7 separate regions of the Homo sapiens genome follow, and all the other regions are linked to region 6. Evidence: promoter capture Hi-C in 16 types of primary human blood cells and fetal thymus (Javierre and others, 2016). All regions are on one chromosome and are shown on one strand. The core of a region is centred on a gene start or on the middle of the fragment in contact, and the rest is flanking DNA. Distances in the headings are between cores, read along the strand shown. Region 1 overlaps BBS9 (Bardet-Biedl syndrome 9). Region 2 holds the start of RP9 (RP9 pre-mRNA splicing factor). Region 3 overlaps BBS9 (Bardet-Biedl syndrome 9). Region 4 overlaps BBS9 (Bardet-Biedl syndrome 9). Region 5 overlaps BBS9 (Bardet-Biedl syndrome 9). Region 6 holds the start of BMPER (BMP binding endothelial regulator). Region 7 overlaps BBS9 (Bardet-Biedl syndrome 9).

Region 1 (2,700 bases), core at 148-2,647, 760 kb before region 6:
TCTTCATGTTTTTTAAGTGACCTTTCAAACAGTTTAATTCTGTATTATTGTATCATTGCTATTTGAAATTTGTATTTGGTTTATAGTCATGGGCTTTTTTTTTGTGATCTAGTCATTACCCTCTTAAAAAGAAAACTTATTATAACTATTCTTTTGTTTACTGCATATAAATATTATCCCCTTACATTTTTTAAAAATTGTTTTTCTTGCCTATAATTAAAACAGTGGGATCTGCAGGAAAATGTGAAAGGAGAAAATTGTATTGGTAAAGCAGAAGAGTGGGAGTACTAAACTGCACAGAGCACCTACTAAGTTGTTTTGAAGGAAAATTTGGTCCCTGATTTTCCACTGATAGGAGATGGGAAGGCCTTCTATTCAGAGGATATTGGAAGGTTCCTCAACCCTGCCTCTGCCCCCGCTATTTGTTAAAGCATGTGATGCCCCAGTTATTTGGCCATGTAAGAGTCATGCCACAGAAATACCTGCCAGAGAGAACAATTTCAAACCCACTTCTGCCTAAACTATCTAAAGTTCAGCTTGGTTGGAAACTATACTTACTGATTATCTGAATAACATACTGTACACTCATTCATTTCTATTAGAGCTCACTACTGGGGTGCTACCAGTAGGTTACGAATATGCTGAGATACTGCTTCCCTCACAGTTTGTGGTGAGCTGTGAGCAGCTTCCTCTGTTTTCCGAAGCTTGCTATACAAAAATCATTACATATGTGTGTTCCACATAGACAACACTCATCATTGTGTTCCAAAGCCTGTGTCATAATATTGTGGGGTGATTATTATATATGGAGATTTTCTATCCCAGACACATGAGATGCTATAAGATTGTATTCTCCAGGGGTAGGTGGGGTGATGTGACTTAGGTTTCCTAATTTTTGATAAGTTCCAAAATTGAATGCTGGCATTCTCAAGTTTGAGAATTATTTTTGTTGATCTTATAGAATGGAAAGTTAACAAGAGCAGTTTTGGATATGCTCTGTTTAAGATAGGAATGTCTAGTTTACAGAATAGAGGTAGAGATTTGGGGATGAACAATATGGTGTTTATATTTGGAGCTCTGAGAACAGGTGAAAATGCACAGGGAGAGAAGTTGAAATAAGAGGGGAGGAGGTATAGGACTGTAACCTGGAGAATATGAGGATCAACAGGGGAAGTGTGGGAAGAGTAGTAGATTCTGAAAAGAGCAGGCAGAGAGGCAGGAAAACTAATTAGGCTGGTAACTGGGAAGCAGTGCAGTGGTGTGATCTTGGCTCACTGCAACCTCCACCTCCCGGGTTCAAGCAATTCTCCTGCCTTAGCCTCCCAAGTAGCTGGGATTACAGGTGCCTGCCACCACACCCAGCTAATTTTTGTATTTTTAGTAGAGACAGGGTTTTGCCATGTTGGCCAGGCTGGTCGCGAACTCCTGACCTTGGGTGATCCACCTGCCTCGGCCTCACAAAGTGCTGGGATTACAGGCATGAGCCACTGCACCTGGCCTTTTTTTTTTTTTTTTTAATGGAGACAGGTCTTGCTCTGCTGCCCAGGATGGAGTGCAGTGGCATGATCATGGCTCACTGCAGCCTCAACCTCCCAGGTGTGCCCCACCATGCCTGGCTAATTTTTATTTTTATTTTTTTTGTACAGACAGTGTCTCCTTGTGTTGCCCAGGCTGGTCTTGAACTTCCTGGGCTCAAGTGATCCTCCTGCCTTGGCCTCCCAAAGTGCTGGGATTATTGGCGTGAGCCACTGAGCCTGGCCTAAAAGTTTTCATGCTCTTTAGCAGCAAGTGGTTCATTAGTGTCCATGACAAGAGTGGATGTGTGGGCACAATGGTAATGAGATCTAGATTTGCAATGTATGAATGGGGAGTGAGTGGGAGGTGGGGAGACTATTTATGGCTCTTTAAAGAAACTTAGCTGTGAATTGAAGAAGGGAGGATGATGATTTGGAGACCATGGAGGGTCAAGGGAAGTGGGAAAAATTCAATGTGTAGAATAGAGGCTTTCATTGATGGAGCAGGGACCCAGAGAGGACAGTCAGAGATGGGATCAGGTGTGCAGATGGAAGGATTAACCTTGGACAGATGTGGAAGCTTTTTTCCACAGTGCCAGAGGAAAGAAGGTAAGAATGTATACCGATGTAGAGAAATTTGCAGGTCAAGTTGGGAGGTTGAAACAGTAATGTCAGTTGACCTCTACTTTTTTTTAGGTGATCAGACAGTGAGAGAAGAGTTACAGGGATCCTGAAATTCTTTAGAAGAAGCCGAGTAAAACACAGAAGGATTCCTTGTTAATCTTGATAGTACAATTGAAATTGAACACCCCATGCATTTAAATGGCACTTACTTTCCTAATTCTCTCAACTCAAGATTCAGACTCTTGAGAGAGATAGTGAGAATGAGGGAGAGAGAGAGGATCTGAATAATACAATTTAGATTACATGCCAACCTGTGGCCTGGAGGGAAAGTTTATTTCTAGAATTGGAGTAGAGAGCAAATAAGACTGACTAATGGCTTTTCATTTAATGCCTGCATGTTCATTAATTCCTGGGGAATCCCATATTTAATTGTAGCTTGAAATCTGTGAGAGTCAGACTTATCTGAGATCTGGTTACTATACTAGTCCTGCAAAGTATTTTAATAGTCGTACATATACATTTTGTTTCAGTGGGTTAGCTTGTTACCATGTGGACTTGGCCA
Region 2 (2,700 bases), core at 18-2,517, 800 kb before region 6:
GGAGGCAGCGTTAGGCTATACTTAACACCTACTTAGCACAGGTAACTAGAAGTGGCTAAAACAGAAACGAATTCTTGAATAACTGAGTGAATGCCACACTTAGAAAAGGTTGTTTTATGCAGCTAATTATAGAATCACGGACAAGAACTGAAAGAGTTGCTGCCTGAACTTTCCACTCGAGGTCTGTGTTAGAATTTAGGAAACGCCACCCTGATAAATGACTGCAAAAGACAAGAATGCACCATCCCCAAACATGCCACCCTGGCATATTGATGACTTTGAGCTATAAGTAACAGAACCAAACAACACAGGATAACTTATTCAGCTACCCCTCAACTGCCTAAAATAAAGTATGACTGCTTTTTTTCCTTTTGTTCTTATTATTTTTCGACTCGCCTGTTGTAAACAGAAATTTACACCTATAAAGGAAATTTTCTGTAGTAAATGTATCTGTATCAGGAAGACAGCTGCTTGGGGGCAACTTTTATCGCCTGAGCGCCTCATCGGGATAACAAAGCAACCTTTATTCACCATACATTTCCCCCATCACCCTTCCAAAAGGTCTCCACCACGCCCCAAAAGGCCCACGCCCCTATTCCCTGGCCCTTCTTTGTCTCCCACTTTTGTGGCCCTCTAGTGCACGGGTACATAATTAAAAGTTTTTCTCCTGTTAATCTGTCTTATGACAATTTAATTTGTGGCCCAGCTTAAGAACTTAGAAGGGTAGAGGGAAACCATATTTCCTTCCCCTACATTTGAATCTTCTTTACACCACACTCTCCCGGGTCATTTGGACTCTCCTGGAACCCCCTGGAGCTAGGGAAGCGCAGGGCCTCCCAAGTCAGATTCTGCTTGGTGCCGAGCGGCAGTTGGCTCCCTGAACGCCCCGCCAGGAGGATGGACTTCAAGTCCTTGACCGCGGCGCCCGACATCGGTCGCCCGCACCAGGCTCCTGCCGGGCCCAGCCCCCCTGCCTGCTCGCGGGGGCTCGGAGGACCCGGCCTAGCGCCCACCGCGGCGTCCCGCGCCCCGGGCCCCTGGCTTCAGAAGACTGGCCGCGCGCGGACGGCAGCTCGGGACTCACAAGGACTCCAGGTGCTTGAGCTGCTGCAGCTGCTGCGCGTCGTGTCGCCGCCGCTTCTGCTCCCGACGTCGCTGCAGCTCCTGCTCCGGCGGCTCACGCGGCCGCCGCGCGCCCGCAGCCCCCACGTCCTCGCGCCCAGGCCGGGACGACATGTCAGCCCCCGCAGCGCCGCTCGGGCAACCCCCGCGGCGCGGCTCCGGCGGCGGCGGCGGCGGCGGCGGCAGCCAAGAGAGCACTTCCTCCGCGCGGCGGTCGCGGGGCTTCGCAGCGCCCCCTCCCGCCGCCGCCCCGCAACTCACCCCGGCGGCCCCGAAGTCTCAGCCTCGGCCACCCGATCCCCGCCTCCCCGCGTCGGGCCCCAAGTCAGGGGCTCCGGGTCTCGGGCCCAGCCGCCAGGCGGGCTGCTGCGGGTGGGTGGGGAGCGCCGCCTAGCTGGAGCCGAAGCGGGGCGAGGCGCTAGTTGGGAGCCTGGAGGTTCCCGCCCGGCCACACCCACCTCAGGTATACTAGCAACAGTCACATAGGGATGAGCAGATGAAATGTATTCATAAAAAAATGTTCAAATTAGCCAGGCGTGGTGGCGGGCGCCAGTAGTCCCAGCTACTTGGGTGGCTGAGGCAGGAGAATTGCTTGAACCCAGGAGGCAGAGGTTGCAGTGAGCCGAGATGGTGCCCCTGCACTCCAGTCTGGGCGAAAAAGCGAGATTGTCTCTCAGAAAAAAAAAAAAAAAAGTGTTCAAAAAGTGAAATGTATAAACATATAATTATGTTCGGTAATAGTGTGCACCCAGCTTTATAACTGCGGTCATCTGATATACCATGAGAGACAACCTAACTCTTTTGACAGGATGGGTCACCATGACGTCACCACTGTGCCAGTCACCCGAGGAGCCAAGATCCTGAGAAATTTCATCTTTCACAAATGCAGATGTACAGAAAAGACACTTATTTATTTATCGAGGAAATTTCTACATTTTTGCATATATGTAGAATGCTTACACAGTCACCATTGTAATAATGAGCTTTGATTGAGTCATATTTGCAAAAAATGCATAAAACAAATTTGAACTCTCTAAAAGTCTTTATATAGTTGATGCCTCCAGTATTAGAAATGATGTTAAGATGTAATACATAGCATAGTGAATTGTAAAACATAATGCTGACAATTTACAATAATGAAAAAGCTAAAAGAGAAAATAGAAAAACGAAAGCAAACTAAAAAGAAAATTCAACATAGAAAAAGTGTATTGCAGGGATAGATTATGGGCAATTGCATGGCGATTGTCCACATGAACTGCCCAACTTTTATGATGATTAACATATTTTGAAGTCTTGCATCATGATGAATAGCTTTTTTTTTTTTCTTTTAGGACATGGCTCTCCTCGATGATACAGTCTCATTAATTTTCTATGTGATACTGCTCTTTCCAAAATTCTTTTTAACTTTTTAAAGTTTTTTATTTTGTAGAGACGGGGTCTCGCTATGCTGCTTAGGCTGGCCTTGAACTCCTGGCCTCAAGCAATCCTCCTGCCATAGCCTCCCAAAACACTGGGATTACAGGTGGGAATCACTGCACCTGACTATGAAATTATTTTGTGATTTGATATTCTCTGACT
Region 3 (2,700 bases), core at 25-2,524, 700 kb before region 6:
CATTAAATTTTTTTTCTCATTTTGTCTCTTACTTCCCTGTGATTAAATCAAGATTATACATTGTTGTCCAAAATCCTGTCAAGAATAGGTGATATTGCATTCTTCCTATATTATCACATAGAAGCATCCTCATTAATGATTAATTTTGATCTTCTGGTTAAGCTTGTTACCTGAATTCTCCACTGTGTAATTACTAATTACTGGTGTTTTATGCCTTGCAACTAATAAGGAAATGTAAATATTTTGCTTTTCATCAACATTCCCCCTTGAATTGATAACCCATTAGCAATTCTTGCCTGCAATAATCTTTACTGTGGTAGTTGCAAAATGATGATTTCCAAATTGGCACTTCCTTCACATTTGTCAGTTGGTTCTCAATCTTCTACTGTAAGCAGTAGATCTTTCTTCTCCCCTATTTATTTGTCTGCTTATTATGTGGATTCATGAATTTCAATTTTTTTCTGTTAGTTTTAATTCAATACTGAACCTAATAATTTTGATGCTTAAATTGTCCCAGATTTGGCCAGTGGGAGCCTCTTTAAGCTGGCTCCTGTGTCCTTGTGACATGTCTTCTTTTTTTTTTTTTTGTTAGCATTTCTTTACTTTCTAGCATAGTAAGATGTTCCAGGCTAATCTGATACCTATCCTGCTGCAGCCATCTATATAGTATTAGAGACCAAGATATAGATGCTAGGTGTGATCCTGTTACTATGGTATCTTTACTTTTAGCCCCTTTCAGGGACAGTGCTAGAAAATATGTGCATGTATATACATATATACATATCTGTACATAAACATATACATATATGCACATGTGCACATAAATGTGTACACTTACATATAGATATAACTTTTTTTTTTTGAGATAGAGTCTTGTGCTGTCACCCAGGCTGGAGTGCAATGGCGTGATCTCTGCTCACTGAAACCTCTACCTCCTGGGTTCAAGCGATTCTCCTGCCTCAGCCTCCTGGGTAGCTGGGATTATAGGTGTGCGCCACCATGCCTGGCTTATTTTTTGTATTTTTAGTAGAGATGGGGTTTCACCATGTTGGCCAGGCTGGTCTTGAACTCCTGACCTCAGGTGATCCACCCGCCTTGGCCTCCCAAAGTGCTGGGATTACAGTTGTGAGCCACCATGCCCAGCCCATAGAAATAACTTAAAAGTCATGCATTCCTACCATTATATCCAACTTCAGTTCATTCCTACATAATTCTTTTTTGCCATCCCCTATTCAGTATTTATATGTTTCTTCTAAGTGAATATCTGGCTCTCAACATCAAGCCACATATTCATTTGCTCATGTCTATAATACATCTAAAGTAGCTGCAGAATTGATTTTGACCATTTCCCTATGATAAACAAACCTCTGTCTCTGTTTTCTTTTTCTAGCAAATTCCTCTAAGTATTCGTGTTCCCAGAGGCTGCTACTTCCAGTGCTGCACCCTTTCAAATTCCTTCTCTGTAGCCAGAGCTTTGAACTTGTAGATCCAACCCATGTTGAGAATTTTTGCATTTATTGTTTCACCTTTTCCTTCTGGGGTGGTTGGGTCTGTGCCTTCCATAAGTCCTTTGCTTTCTTCTGTTCTTTTTCACAGAATCTTATAAGCCTTTCTTTCCTCACTTTCAATACCCTGAAGTTTGTGGTAGTAGCAGTGGGCTGATGGTAGAAGTGCCATGGAATTTGTTTCTTTTTTCTTCTACATATGGTGAAGGCAGCAAATGTTCTTTCTCCTAGTAATGCAGAAAGTATGGATTCAGTGTGGTTTTATGTTTTTTCTAGGAGGGTAGGGGGAAGTGGGTGACCACTATTATTTTCTGAATTCAGGAAAATTCTGTTTTTTTTTTTAATTTTTAATTTTTGTGGGCACATAGTAGGATATATATTTATGGGGTACATGAGATATTTTGATATATGCATACAATGCATAATCACATCAGGGTAAATGGAGTATCCTCACCTCAAGCATTTATCCTTTGTATTACAAACGATCCAATTAGACTCTTTTAGTTATTTAAAAATGTACAATTAAATTATTACTGACTATAGTCATCCTATTATGCTATCAAATATTAGATCTTATTTATTCTTTCTATTTTTTTGTACATTTAGCCATTTCTACCTCCCCATCCCCCAACTACCCTTCTCAGACTTTGGTAATCATCTTTCTTTATCTCCGTGAGTTTAATTGTTTTAATTTTTAGCCTCCACAAATAAGTGAGAACATGTGAAGTTTGTCTTTCTGTGACTGGCTTATTTCACCTAACATAATGACCTTCAGTTACATTCATGTTGTTGCAAATGACAGGATCTCATTCTTTTTATGGCTGAATAGTATTCCATTGTATATATGTAACCACATTTTCTTTATCCATTTGTCTGTTGATGGAAGCTTAGGTTGCTTCTAAATCTTGGCTATTGTGAACAGTGCTGCAAGAAACATAGGAGTGCAGATATCTCTTTGATATACTGATTTTCGTTCTTTTGGGTGTGTAACTGGGAGTGGGATTGCTGGGTCATATGGTAGCTCTATTTTTGATTTTTTGTGGAACTTCCTCACTGTTCTTCACAGTGATTGTACTAATTATTCCCATCAATAGTGTTAGAAGGTTCCCTTTTCTCCACTTTCTCAGCAGCATTTGTCACAGTTCAATGTTGGTAGGTTGTATGTGTCTAGGAATTTATCCATTTCTTCTAGGTT
Region 4 (2,700 bases), core at 107-2,606, 730 kb before region 6:
TGACAAAATTCAACAACCCTTCATGCTAAAAACTCTCAATAAATTAGGTATTGATGGGATGTATTTCAAAATAATAAGAGCTATCTATGACAAACCCACAGCCAATATCATACTGAATGGGCAAAAACTGGAAGCATTCCCTTTGAAAACTGGCACAAGACAGGGATGCCCTCTCTCACCACTCCTATTCAGCATAGTGTTGGAAGTTCTGGCCAGGGCAATTAGGCAGGAGAAGGAAATAAAGGGTATTCAATTAGGAAAAAAGGAAGTCAAATTGTCCCTGTTTGCGGATGACATGATTGTATATCTAGAAAACCCCATTGTCTCAGCCCAAAATCTCCTTAAGCTGATAAGCAACTTCAGCAAAGTCTCAGGATACAAAATCAATGTACAAAAATCACAAGCATTCTTATACACCAACAACAGACAAACAGAGAGCCAAATCATGAGTGAACTGCCATTCACAATTGCTTCAAAGAGATTAAAATACCTAGGAATCCAACTTACAAGGGATGTGAAGGACCTCTTCAAGGAGAACTACAAACCACTGCTCAAGGAAATAAAAGAGGATACAAACAAATGGAAGAACATTCCATGCTCATGGGTAGGAAGAATCAATATCATGAAAATGGCCATACTGCCCAAGGTAATTTACAGATTCAATGCCATCCCCATCAAGCTACCAATGCCTTTCTTCACAGAACTGGAAAAAACTACTTTAAAGTTCATATGGAATGAAAAAAGAGCCCGCATCGCCAAGTCAATCCCAAGCCAGAAGAACAAAGCTGGAGGCATCACACTACCTGACTTCAAACTATACTACAAGGCTACAGTAACCAAAACAGCATGGTACTGGTACCAAAACAGAGATATAGATCAATGGAACAGAACAGAGCCCTCAGAAATAACGCCGCATATCTACAACTATCTGATCTTTGACAAACCTGAGAAAAACAAGCAGTGGGGAAAGGATTCCCTATTTAATAAATGGTGCTGGGAAAACTGGCTAGCCATATGTAGAAAGCTGAAACATATCTTGCTTTTGTTTATACACTATGTATACAAAATTGTTTCATCTCTAGTAGCTTTAATTACATATATCAACTAAAATTTTAACTCTTAGTAACCTTAATTTCTGATTAAAACCCTAGAAAATAATTTCGAACTAATTTTATATCAGTATTTGTGATAAAAACTATTTTTTTAAGTTTTTAGAAAGATTTTTCTTCAAATTATTGTTTTTTAACAGACCTAAATATATGTAGCTTTTCTGTATCATATAAAAATAACATCAACGTATACAGACAAACTCATGTTTAATAATTAATGTTTCAATATTTTAACTTATAAATGACTCAGACATTTTATGATTATTATTTAATTTAATATAACATGACCTGAAGATTTTAAATTACTGAAAATAATTTTGAAAATATGACACAGGTACCCTCCTTAATGTCTTCCCTTAGTCATTCTGGGTGCCAAGTAGCCTCATGGTACCCAGGAGGCTTATGAAGGTCAAGGCCTCTCTGAGTCCTGACATACCAGGTGCAATGGTCAGGATAGAAGACAGGGCTGTGAAGACTATATCTGGAGGATTCAACCCCTCCCCAAATAGCCAGTAGGCAAGCAGGAAAGCAGGGGAGAAGGGAGCATATTGGGCTTGGTTCTGGCTTGTAGCTGATGGTCTAGGCACTAAGAACATGCCTCTAGGCCGGGTGTGGTGGCTCACACCTGTAATCCCAGCACTTTGGGAGGCCGAGGTGGGCCGATCATGAAGTCAGGAGATTGAGATCATCCTGGCTAACACCGTGAAACCCCATCTCTACTAAAAAATACAAAAAATTAGCTGGACATGGTGGCGGGCGCCTGTAGTCCCAGCTACTCGGGAGGCTGAGGCAGGAGAATGGCATTAACCCAGGCGGTGGAGCTTGCAGTGAGCCAAGATCGTGCCACTGCACTCCAGCCTGGGTGACAGAGCGAGACTCTGTCTCAAAAAAAAAATAATAAAAAAAAAAAATGAAAAGAACACGACTCTAGACCTCGTCATGTCCACCTATGCAGACCCCCAAATCCAGAGGCTCTAAACCAAAAACAGCTCACAGTCAATCAAGCAAATATCTTGTTATATTTAACTGATAATTTTGAAGCTATTCCTATTTTAGCAACAATTTTAGAATTTGCTTTATTTACCAAATATTATCACAGACACATAACACACATGGACATGAAAGATTTTCATTTGCTAGCTTTTAAATAGTTTTCCTTTTCCCTATTTGGTCTATTAATCTTCCAGTTACTTGTTTCATTGCCCTAAGCAATTGTTAACCAGGCAACAAATTTGCATTTCTAAAATAACTCTTAGGTACAACAACAAAAAATTATATTCCATATGTACATAGCTAAGATTTTAGGCCTAAATATTGTATCATCATTTGTCTCAAACCAAGGAAAAAATGGTGCTCCCATAAAAGTTCAGTTAAGACAACATGGCCAGAAAGGCACCTTAATCAAAGGTGTGACTTATGCCAATTTAAAACAATGGGAAGAGTTTCTAATATACACAGGCAGACATCCTTAAAAATGGTGATTTCCTTAATAGATGTAAATTTCTTTTGCAGAAGGGTTTCAAGATAGCCAATGAAATTCCAGAAAGGCATATTTTAGTTCAATAGGTGTTCTTAATTTAGCTACTGTTTC
Region 5 (2,700 bases), core at 159-2,658, 710 kb before region 6:
TACCTGTTAACACACAACTCAAGAGTTAAATGTTACCGTCAAAAATCCAAACCTCCCATTTCCTGCAGAGGCCATAATTCTGCTTTTTCATGTGGATTTAGATGTACTTTTGTTTTCTTTCCAACCTTGTCTTTGGTAAAACTGAAGACTCCCTTGGTTGCAACTAACAGTTGGCTTAAGCAAGAATAGGAAGTTGACTGGCTAACGTCACTTGAGCCTTCTCTGTGATCAGATCTGGTTTCTCTCTTTTCATCTCTTGCTTCCATTTCCTGGGATAGGCTATTTCCTTCTGGTTACATGATGGCTATAGCAGCTTTAAATCTTTACTTGTCACATTCTAGTCCATGTAAAAGAGGTTCTTCCTTTCTCGTAGAAGGCTCAACAAAAGTCTGTTTCCAACTCACAGGCTCTGGTTGGGCCATCTCTGAACCAATCATTGCCACCAAAGGAATGTGATTAACTTGAGCCTGAGCCACAGGTGTGGGAAGTCCTCTTACCACTAAGGGTAAGAGTGGAGAGGGAAGAGGGGTGGATTTCCAGAGGAATATCAGTGAATAATTAACTGTGGTGAATCTGAGGACTTTGGAGGTGATCAAGAAAAAAGACATGGCTATCAGATGGCAGTAGAACACAATAAGCTTTATTTGCGTGGTGCTTTGGCAGGATTGCATTCAAGAGGAGGTCCCTTACAGCAAGAGACCTTCCAGAGAGAGTGAGGTGGCCTCAACCCAGAAGGGGCAGAGGTCAGGGGAGCTTTCTGGGGAGAGAGGACCTAGAGTGGGGCTTAGGTGTCCAGGTTGCTGAGAAGCAGGACTGGGGAGGGCAGCAGCAACATACAGTCTTTTACATGCTCAGGGTTTGTTTTACCTGTAGCTAGTGGATGTTGGGTGCAGTTTTTCAGGGTATGCAAAACAGGCTGAAAATATCCTTATTTGGGCTATGTTTAAAGCAATTGATATAAAAATTTGAATTTGGTATCCGTGAGCTTTGAGTTAATGGTCAGTCTGAATGAAGAAGTAAACAACATGGGGTCAATATATAAAGGGGTCACCTTTAACCTGGTTCTGTAGCATTAATGAAAGAGAGTGAAATAGGTGCTGGGTGGCCAAAAAACTGTAAATATCCACCTTGCTTTTGGTTTCACTTTCTCTCCTAGGACCTCCCTGTGGTACTACCTTAGAACTGACAGGAGAGGCCAGCAGTGGTGATTTGAGAGTGTGCCCTCAGGTGTGTATATGAATTGGAGAAGGCAGGGCCTAAGCAGTTAAAGGATATGCTCTGTCCTGGGCTGAATGCAGCCTCATTCTGGTACAGTGTGTGGGGATAATTGCTTGAAATGTTTGTGTGTATTTTGAGGATTTGTTGTAATTGAATTTAATTGAGTGCTTTGCAAAATCATTTGTCATGATTTTAGGCTTGGTATGCATAGATATTTAAATTCGGGGGCATGTCTCAAATTATTTACAGAAGAGATTGAAACTTGAAATAATGTAAGTTATGATTTTTACTTTATCTTTTCCTCACTTTCAGTATTCTTCACATGAGGATGTATATACTTTTGTTATAAAAGTAGTCTTGTTCACAGAGGCATATTTAAAACATATGTACCGGTAAAAAAAAAAAAAGTAAATGATTAAGCACCACCTCCCAAACGCAACCACTGAAAACATATATGTGGACAGTAGAATATAATCCAGAATGTTTCAACTTGAGCTAACCCAGAGTAATTTTAGAGTAATTTTACAGTTTCTGGAATTTAGTCATCTTACCACCTAAAGGGCCCAACCAGTGAAAAGCATGTTTATCATGTCAAGTCTGGTGCTGTATAATGGAATGCAAGCAAGTTATGACAATAAATGTTAAATGGAAAAGCCTTTACTTTATATGCATATATCTTGAAGTCAGTTGAGTAATTTATTCAATATTGGTGTTTATTTTGTATTAAAATATATGAATTTACTAGAAGACAGAAAAAAATCTGCGTGATTTGGGTCAAGCTGCAAATAGGAAAAGTGGCATATTATAAGATATTCCTAAATATTTAGTGATGATACATTTCACCTGCAATTCGTGCACTTGAAATCAAAACTTGTCTTTCCTTTAAGATGGCAAAAATATATAGAATAATATAAAAACTGTGCACATTTTATATTTGGGGAAAGACCTCTTGAACTGCACATAAGCTTCTGCTTATTCTTTCTAACTTGCTTTTCAGGTTACTTTTTCAGTCTATATACTTGGAATAATGCTCTTAAATGACTTTCGTTACATTAAACCTGAGATTTCCTGACACGTAGTAGTGTCCTAGTCCATTTGTGTTGCTATACCAAAACACCTGAGACTGGGTAATTTATAAAGAACAGACATTTATTTCTCACAGGTCTGGAGGCTGGGAAGTCCAAAATCAAGGTGCCAGCAGGTTCAGTGTGCAGCTAGGGCCTGTTCCTCATAGATGGCACCACCTTGGTGTCCTCACATGGCAGAAGAACAGAGGAGCAGAAGAGCAAAGGGCCTAAGCTACTTCCCTCCATTCTTTCACAAGGCACTAATCCATTCGTGAGGGTGAAGCTCTCATTACTTAATCACTTCCCAAAAGGCCACACCTCTTAATACCACTACAATGGGAATTAATTTTCAACACAGGAATTTTGGATGACGTTCAGACCATAGCAAGTAGTCTCTTACAGTCATTTTAGATCT
Region 6 (2,700 bases), core at 166-2,665:
CTAGCTGATCGTCAGGTCCCAACACTTGCCAAGCGTCCCTCACTCCCACCTCGCGCCTTCGTACTTTGGTTACAAAAATCATCTCTCTGCGATTGCACCCCTTTTGAGTAGAGGGTGCCACTGCGTGGGGAGGAGGCGGCGATTCAGCAGGGGGATCACAGGAGCTGACTCCCCGACACCCAGTGCTGCAGAGGCGAGAGGGCGCAGCCGGGCTGAGAGAGCGACGGAGCTCCGAGCTGCAGAGGCCGCCGCGCGGCGGCCCCCGCCAGAGATGAGCGGTGGGGCGGGGGTTCCTCCCTCTTTTCGGGTGAATGAATGATTAGTCAAACACCACCTCCCCGCCCCGGTCCGCCCGAGATTGGAAGGGAGGAGTCTCGGAGCGACTGTTCATTTTTTAAGGACGAAAGGCGTTTGCCTCGGTACGTTTTTAAATCGACCTTGTGTGTGTTTCAACTTCGGTCATCCCTAGTGTCAGGACGCGCAGACAGCTAAGCACAGAACACATCTCTAAGGCCACTTGCCCCTCTGTCCGCTCAGCCCCCTGAGTTCGCTGTCGCGCCCCCGCCAGAGGGAAGCAAAGCAGGGCATGAAAAGTTGCGGGGGCCCTACTGCCCCGGGTGTGTCGCTCCTTCCCAAAGGTGGGGCACCCGGGAGCGAGCAGGGTGGTGGGGCGCCCCTGCGTCCCGTTTGCTGCTCCCTCGCTGGATTGGGGCACCCGGGCCTGAGCGCTAGTGCTGCGGCATCCCCGGGGCTCCCCCAAGAAAGGGAGGAGGAGCCGCGCTCGCCCGGACAGTGGAGACGCGCCTTCTCGGCTCTGGTCCGCGCCCTGGGGCCCTGGCCTCCCTGGAGGGGCTGGGGAACTGGAAGCTGGGCCGAGAGAGTTCCCGCTGCAGCTATCGCGCAGTCCCTCCTGCGCCCGGGCGCCCCCAGCGGGTTCCGGGAGGCGCCCGGTGAGCCCACGTCTGTTGCGGCGGAGCGAGCGCGCTCCGGGAGGGCCGAGAGCCGGCGGGGCTGGCAGGAGGTGAGGAGTGCGGGAGTGGAGGACGCTGCGGCAGCGACAGCGACAGCCCCCGAAACAGTAGCGGCAGCCCGGGCGGCGGCTGAGCGGCAGTGCGCAGTCGGCAGCGCCGCAGCTCCTCTCAGTCTATCTCCGGCTGCCGCAACACCCCTTCCTCCTGGCCCCCTCTCCGGCGCTGAGGGGCTGACTGCTAAGCCACTGCAAGCAACTCCCTCAGGAAAAAAAAAAAAAAAGCCGCATCGGAGGAGCCTGGCCGCAGGACCCCTCCTCCCCGGGCGCCCCCACACCTTGGTCTCTCCCCCCGCCCTCCCTCACACCCCCCCGCCCCCCAGCTCTCGGGCGCCCGCCTCCCTCCTTCGCGGACGGTCTCCCGACACGCCGGCTGAGAGCCCTTTTCGACTGTGAGCTGCGGCAGCTGAGCAGAGGCGGCGGCGCGGGACCTGCAGTCGCCAGGGATTCCCTCCAGGTGACGATGCTCTGGTTCTCCGGCGTCGGGGCTCTGGCTGAGCGTTACTGCCGCCGCTCGCCTGGGATTACGTGCTGCGTCTTGCTGCTACTCAATTGCTCGGGGGTCCCCATGTCTCTGGCTTCCTCCTTCTTGACAGGTAGGGGAGGGGGCGGGAGGGACCGGCCCTCCGGGACGCCGGTTTGGTACCTGGGAAAGGTGGCGCTGGCTTGCCCCGGGGATGGGAGGGTGGGGAGCGCGCACCTTGGCGCTTGCCCTGCGCTGGTCGATGGGGATGAAGCGAAGCCCCGGGAGGGCTGGGAAGGCTGGTGAAGAGGTTGCGGGCTGAGAGGCTGTTGCCTTCAATGTAGTAATAATAGACATTCTTCTATTTGAATTTGAGAAATTATTTTATTTATTTTTAATGCTTTCCTCAACTTTTATTTTAATCTTTCCCTCTGTAGAACTCAGGAAAAAAATTTGTGCAGTTTTCCGCACATCTTCCTTTCTCATCTTTGGGGTTGCAATACATCCACTGTGCTAGGAGTGCTTTTTAAAGCACTGGCTCTCAAGACCTTGAATTTAAAGAAACTATCATTTAAAAAGGGCACTAATAGCCGGATATAATAATTATATGTTTTCAGGCAGGTGAAGACCTCAGCTGCTATTCTGAAGGACATACTTTACTGACACCTGGTGCAGAAAAGAAAATATGGAGTCAATTTCTAAGAGAAGGGAAAAGGGGATTGCGTTTCAAAAAGTGATTTAAACCTAAGACAATGCGAGACAGATTCATAGAAAGGCCTGTTTATTGACTCAGTTCTGAGTTTTGGTCAATTTAAAATCTGCCCCAATTTGAGGGTTTTTTTAAATTTTATTTTTTATTTTTTTCTTTGCGTATGGGGCTGTGTGCTTAGTTGAAATATCTTCATAAAGGAGGAGTGTTATTAAAAATCCAGTGAAATACTTGGAATTGTGCTTAGACCATCTGAGAACAGATAATTTATCCCTATATCATAGTCTTTTCTTTTTTGAACCTGTTTAAATAAAATTATTGAAAATGGAGTTGGGGGCAGAGGTTTTGCTTTGGTGAATTTAATAATTTAAACCACATTAAGAATTCTGAAGTTTGGGTAGAGGTTTCAAAAAGGATTAGTGTAAAAATTTTAAATGTTGAAATCATGCTGCTAAGCTAACTTTAAATGAAACATTTTTCCCCCCTGAATTTCAGGTTCTG
Region 7 (2,700 bases), core at 47-2,546, 640 kb before region 6:
ACTGACTGAATAATTCAGTTTGTTTATTCAGTCATTCATTCAGCAAATATTTTTCAACAGGCTTGTGTGCCATACACTGTGCAAGGTACTGGAAATGTAGTCAAATAGACGTGCCTCTTATCCTCAAATAGTATTCAAGGAGGCAGGAAGTCAGTCAGCTACTTCAGTCCATTTGTCATACAGGCTATAGCAGAGCTTTGCATAGGATGCTGAGGAGGCCTCGAGGTGGGACCTCTAAGAGTTGAATGTAGGGAGGCTCCCTAAAAGAGTATACCTGCCATGGGTGTTATTTCTCTCCTTCTGTCTGCTATACCCCTTCCCCAGCAACCCCTCAATAGCTCCTAATACATCACTAAGTAAATAATCAGCCTTAAATAAATATTTAAAAGTGTTTCTGTTGAATTTAATTGACTGTTTTAAAAAGAAGTATTCTTCTCCAATCTTTGGCTCTGACCAAATGGAAATATTTGTAGTCTCCATATATGTTAAGGGTTTTTCTCTCTCTCCTTTTTTTTTTTTCCCACATACTGTCTATCTCCTATGTCTGAAGTGCTTTTCCTTCTTTCTCTGCACGTGGAAATTATGTCTAGAAGCCTCCCTGCTCCCCTTCAGTTCTTCCCTGACCTAGATGTAACCAACATCTCCTTTTTCTCAATTTACATAGTAGTTTTTCAGTGCTTCCCTTAGGTATTACTTATGCTTTCACTGATAGTAAACATTTGTTTTTCTCCTTGACTAAGCTCAGTGCTCCTCGATGGCAGGAATTCTGTATCCCCTGAAGTGCCCAGCACTGTACCTTGGTGAAAGTGGGTGTTCAATGAGAACTGATAAAAGAGTGAAAAGTGTATAAAGAAAGCTTCTGTTTTGTTACTGGCATCTTTCAATGAAAAGGATTCTCCCCGGCATAGTCAAGAATGTTTTAGCTATAGTTGAAATCAACATAATAATGCTCTGTGTCTCGAGCTTCCATTTCTAGTAAAGTTCTCTGGGTTACATATCAAGGTTCCAAAACTTCCTGCCACTCACTGAGGTGACAGTTCTGTTTATTTTGAAAATAAATGATTTTGGAGGGTTTACTTTTGTGCTCTGTGATGCCTCAATCTATATTTTAGTTACCTGCTACTGTTTTTACAAAGCAATTTGGAAGAGTATTAAATTATGTGGTTGAGTTTGTTATTGGTGCACTACAGGACCTGTGAAGCATTTGTGGTTAGTGAGTCAAAAAGCACCACCGTTTAGCTGCACTTGGTGTAGTTGCGATTAGTGCCTTTCTGTTCTGAGAGACATGTATGGCACTCTTTCATAAGATCTTGTTACATTGGCCCTGATTATTCTTTCAGCAATCTCGACAAGGGAACTTTTTTGTGTAGCTTATGTTACTGAACACTTGAGTGGTAAGAAAAAAGATCCAAATATTTTATTTCAGAATTTCCAAATCTGCTTGGAATTGTTTGGTTTTAGAAATAGATTTTTACATACTTTATTGGTCACAGTTAAGAGGAATTAAGGAAGAACCATAAAATAGATGCTCTTGTAAGTTTGTCATCATCTAATTTTACTGTCAAGTTTAAGTAATAAAATACTCTTCTGAGTTGTCTTTTAGGAAGAGAAATGGTTTGGATTTGGAAATCAGTAGTCAATTTTGGCTGTGCCTCTGCCTGCTGTTTTAATGTTAATAAGGCCGCTTTAGGGGCTCACTTATTTCTTAGATAAAATAATGACCATAGTTATATATATAAGCTTCAAACAGCTCAAAGAGTTTTGGACCTTTGTAACAATCTCATGAATATCTATATTATCCCTTGGCAGGTTGGTTTCTGTAGGAAATGAACCACCTATGTAACTAATTGCCTAGGGTTAGATCCATAGCAGGACAAGCTTTGGGATGATGTTCTAGTCACCAGCGCATACTATTTCTGTTGCTATGAATTGGGAATAGGAAAACAATCCTATTTGGAGTTCAGAATGTGAGGTCTAATTATTTTGCACTTTTAGAGACTTTGGGATTTTGAAGGTCAATCTCAGATGGTATAGAGAGATTGGCTGCAGCTGACCGTGGGATTTTGTAGCATGGTCTTACAAGGCTGAGATCTTCTCCCTCTTACTTCATGCGCCCCATGACTCATTCCTCCCTGTCATGCATCTCTCCTAAACTCCTGTCATGGCCTTTCATGTCTCTTTTACTGCTGCATGCCTTTGCATTTGTTATTTGATTTGCCATAATGCCTTCTCCTTCTTTACCAGCGTGATAGAATTTTCACTCATCCTTTAAAACCTAGCTTTCTCTTCCTGAACCTATACCAAGAGCATATCTTTTCTCCCCCAATTACTTGTTACTATTGGTACTACGTGCATACCTTCTGTTAATTAGCACAGGATACTCTGAGTTATACTTAGCTGTCTGTATATGAGTCTCTACAACTAGTGTGGGAGCACCTTATGAGTATAGATTATGTAGTAGTTTTTCCATTGTTAATGTTTGTATTGGATCCCTACTATATGTTTATAAAATGAATGAAATTTATATATATTACGTTTTCATATTAATAAGATCTATTTTTTATAAGCTATTGTTAAGTTTGTCATCACCTTCTATGTCTTGGAAAATTTAAATCATAGTCATTCTGCATTCAACTGAAGTTACAGGTTTTTTATAAGTGAATTATTCTTGATTGAGATAGGATGTTTTCAGAGTTGGTA

The links. Contacts are between HindIII fragments. The CHiCAGO score rates a contact against its expected background, and 5 or more counts as called.
Region 1: a contact is called between a fragment that was not itself captured here and the fragment with the promoter of BMPER in region 6, in 1 of 17 cell types (M0 macrophages). The highest score is 5.2, in M0 macrophages.
Region 2: a contact is called between the fragment with the promoter of RP9 here and the fragment with the promoter of BMPER in region 6, in 5 of 17 cell types (naive B cells, M2 macrophages, total B cells and 2 more). The highest score is 7.1, in naive B cells.
Region 3: a contact is called between a fragment that was not itself captured here and the fragment with the promoter of BMPER in region 6, in 7 of 17 cell types (naive B cells, M1 macrophages, total CD4 T cells and 4 more). The highest score is 7.5, in naive B cells.
Region 4: a contact is called between a fragment that was not itself captured here and the fragment with the promoter of BMPER in region 6, in 1 of 17 cell types (total CD4 T cells). The highest score is 5.2, in total CD4 T cells.
Region 5: a contact is called between a fragment that was not itself captured here and the fragment with the promoter of BMPER in region 6, in 15 of 17 cell types (naive B cells, naive CD8 T cells, naive CD4 T cells and 12 more). The highest score is 13.7, in naive B cells.
Region 7: a contact is called between a fragment that was not itself captured here and the fragment with the promoter of BMPER in region 6, in 5 of 17 cell types (endothelial precursors, M1 macrophages, megakaryocytes and 2 more). The highest score is 8.1, in endothelial precursors.

What each region holds. Positions count from the first base shown.
Region 1 is chr7:33,147,164-33,149,863 of GRCh38, forward strand. All of the region lies in intron 2 of BBS9 (Bardet-Biedl syndrome 9), which reads left to right. Among named protein-coding and RNA genes, the nearest start is that of BBS9, 19 kb to the left of the region's middle. The HindIII fragment of the contact is 1,390 bases long and covers 703-2,092 here.
Region 2 is chr7:33,108,137-33,110,836 of GRCh38, forward strand. RP9 (RP9 pre-mRNA splicing factor) reads right to left here and starts at 1,268. Exons shown (of 6, transcript NM_203288.2): 1 at 1,085-1,268. The coding sequence starts at 1,236. RefSeq lists silencers at 924-1,153, 1,164-1,643. The HindIII fragment of the contact is 9,627 bases long and covers 1-2,700 here.
Region 3 is chr7:33,206,964-33,209,663 of GRCh38, forward strand. The region is part of intron 5 of BBS9 (Bardet-Biedl syndrome 9); the gene reads left to right. Among named protein-coding and RNA genes, the nearest start is that of BBS9, 79 kb to the left of the region's middle. The HindIII fragment of the contact is 2,229 bases long and covers 161-2,389 here.
Region 4 is chr7:33,170,387-33,173,086 of GRCh38, forward strand. All of the region lies in intron 4 of BBS9 (Bardet-Biedl syndrome 9), which reads left to right. Among named protein-coding and RNA genes, the nearest start is that of BBS9, 42 kb to the left of the region's middle. The HindIII fragment of the contact is 3,003 bases long and covers 1-2,700 here.
Region 5 is chr7:33,190,337-33,193,036 of GRCh38, forward strand. The region is part of intron 5 of BBS9 (Bardet-Biedl syndrome 9); the gene reads left to right. Among named protein-coding and RNA genes, the nearest start is that of BBS9, 62 kb to the left of the region's middle. The HindIII fragment of the contact is 1,545 bases long and covers 637-2,181 here.
Region 6 is chr7:33,904,124-33,906,823 of GRCh38, forward strand. It overlaps BMPER (BMP binding endothelial regulator), which reads left to right and starts at 1,416. Exons shown (of 15, transcript NM_001365308.1): 1 at 1,416-1,623; 2 at 2,695-2,700. The coding sequence starts at 1,491. The HindIII fragment of the contact is 6,002 bases long and covers 1-2,700 here.
Region 7 is chr7:33,260,560-33,263,259 of GRCh38, forward strand. All of the region lies in intron 6 of BBS9 (Bardet-Biedl syndrome 9), which reads left to right. Among named protein-coding and RNA genes, the nearest start is that of BBS9, 130 kb to the left of the region's middle. The HindIII fragment of the contact is 884 bases long and covers 855-1,738 here.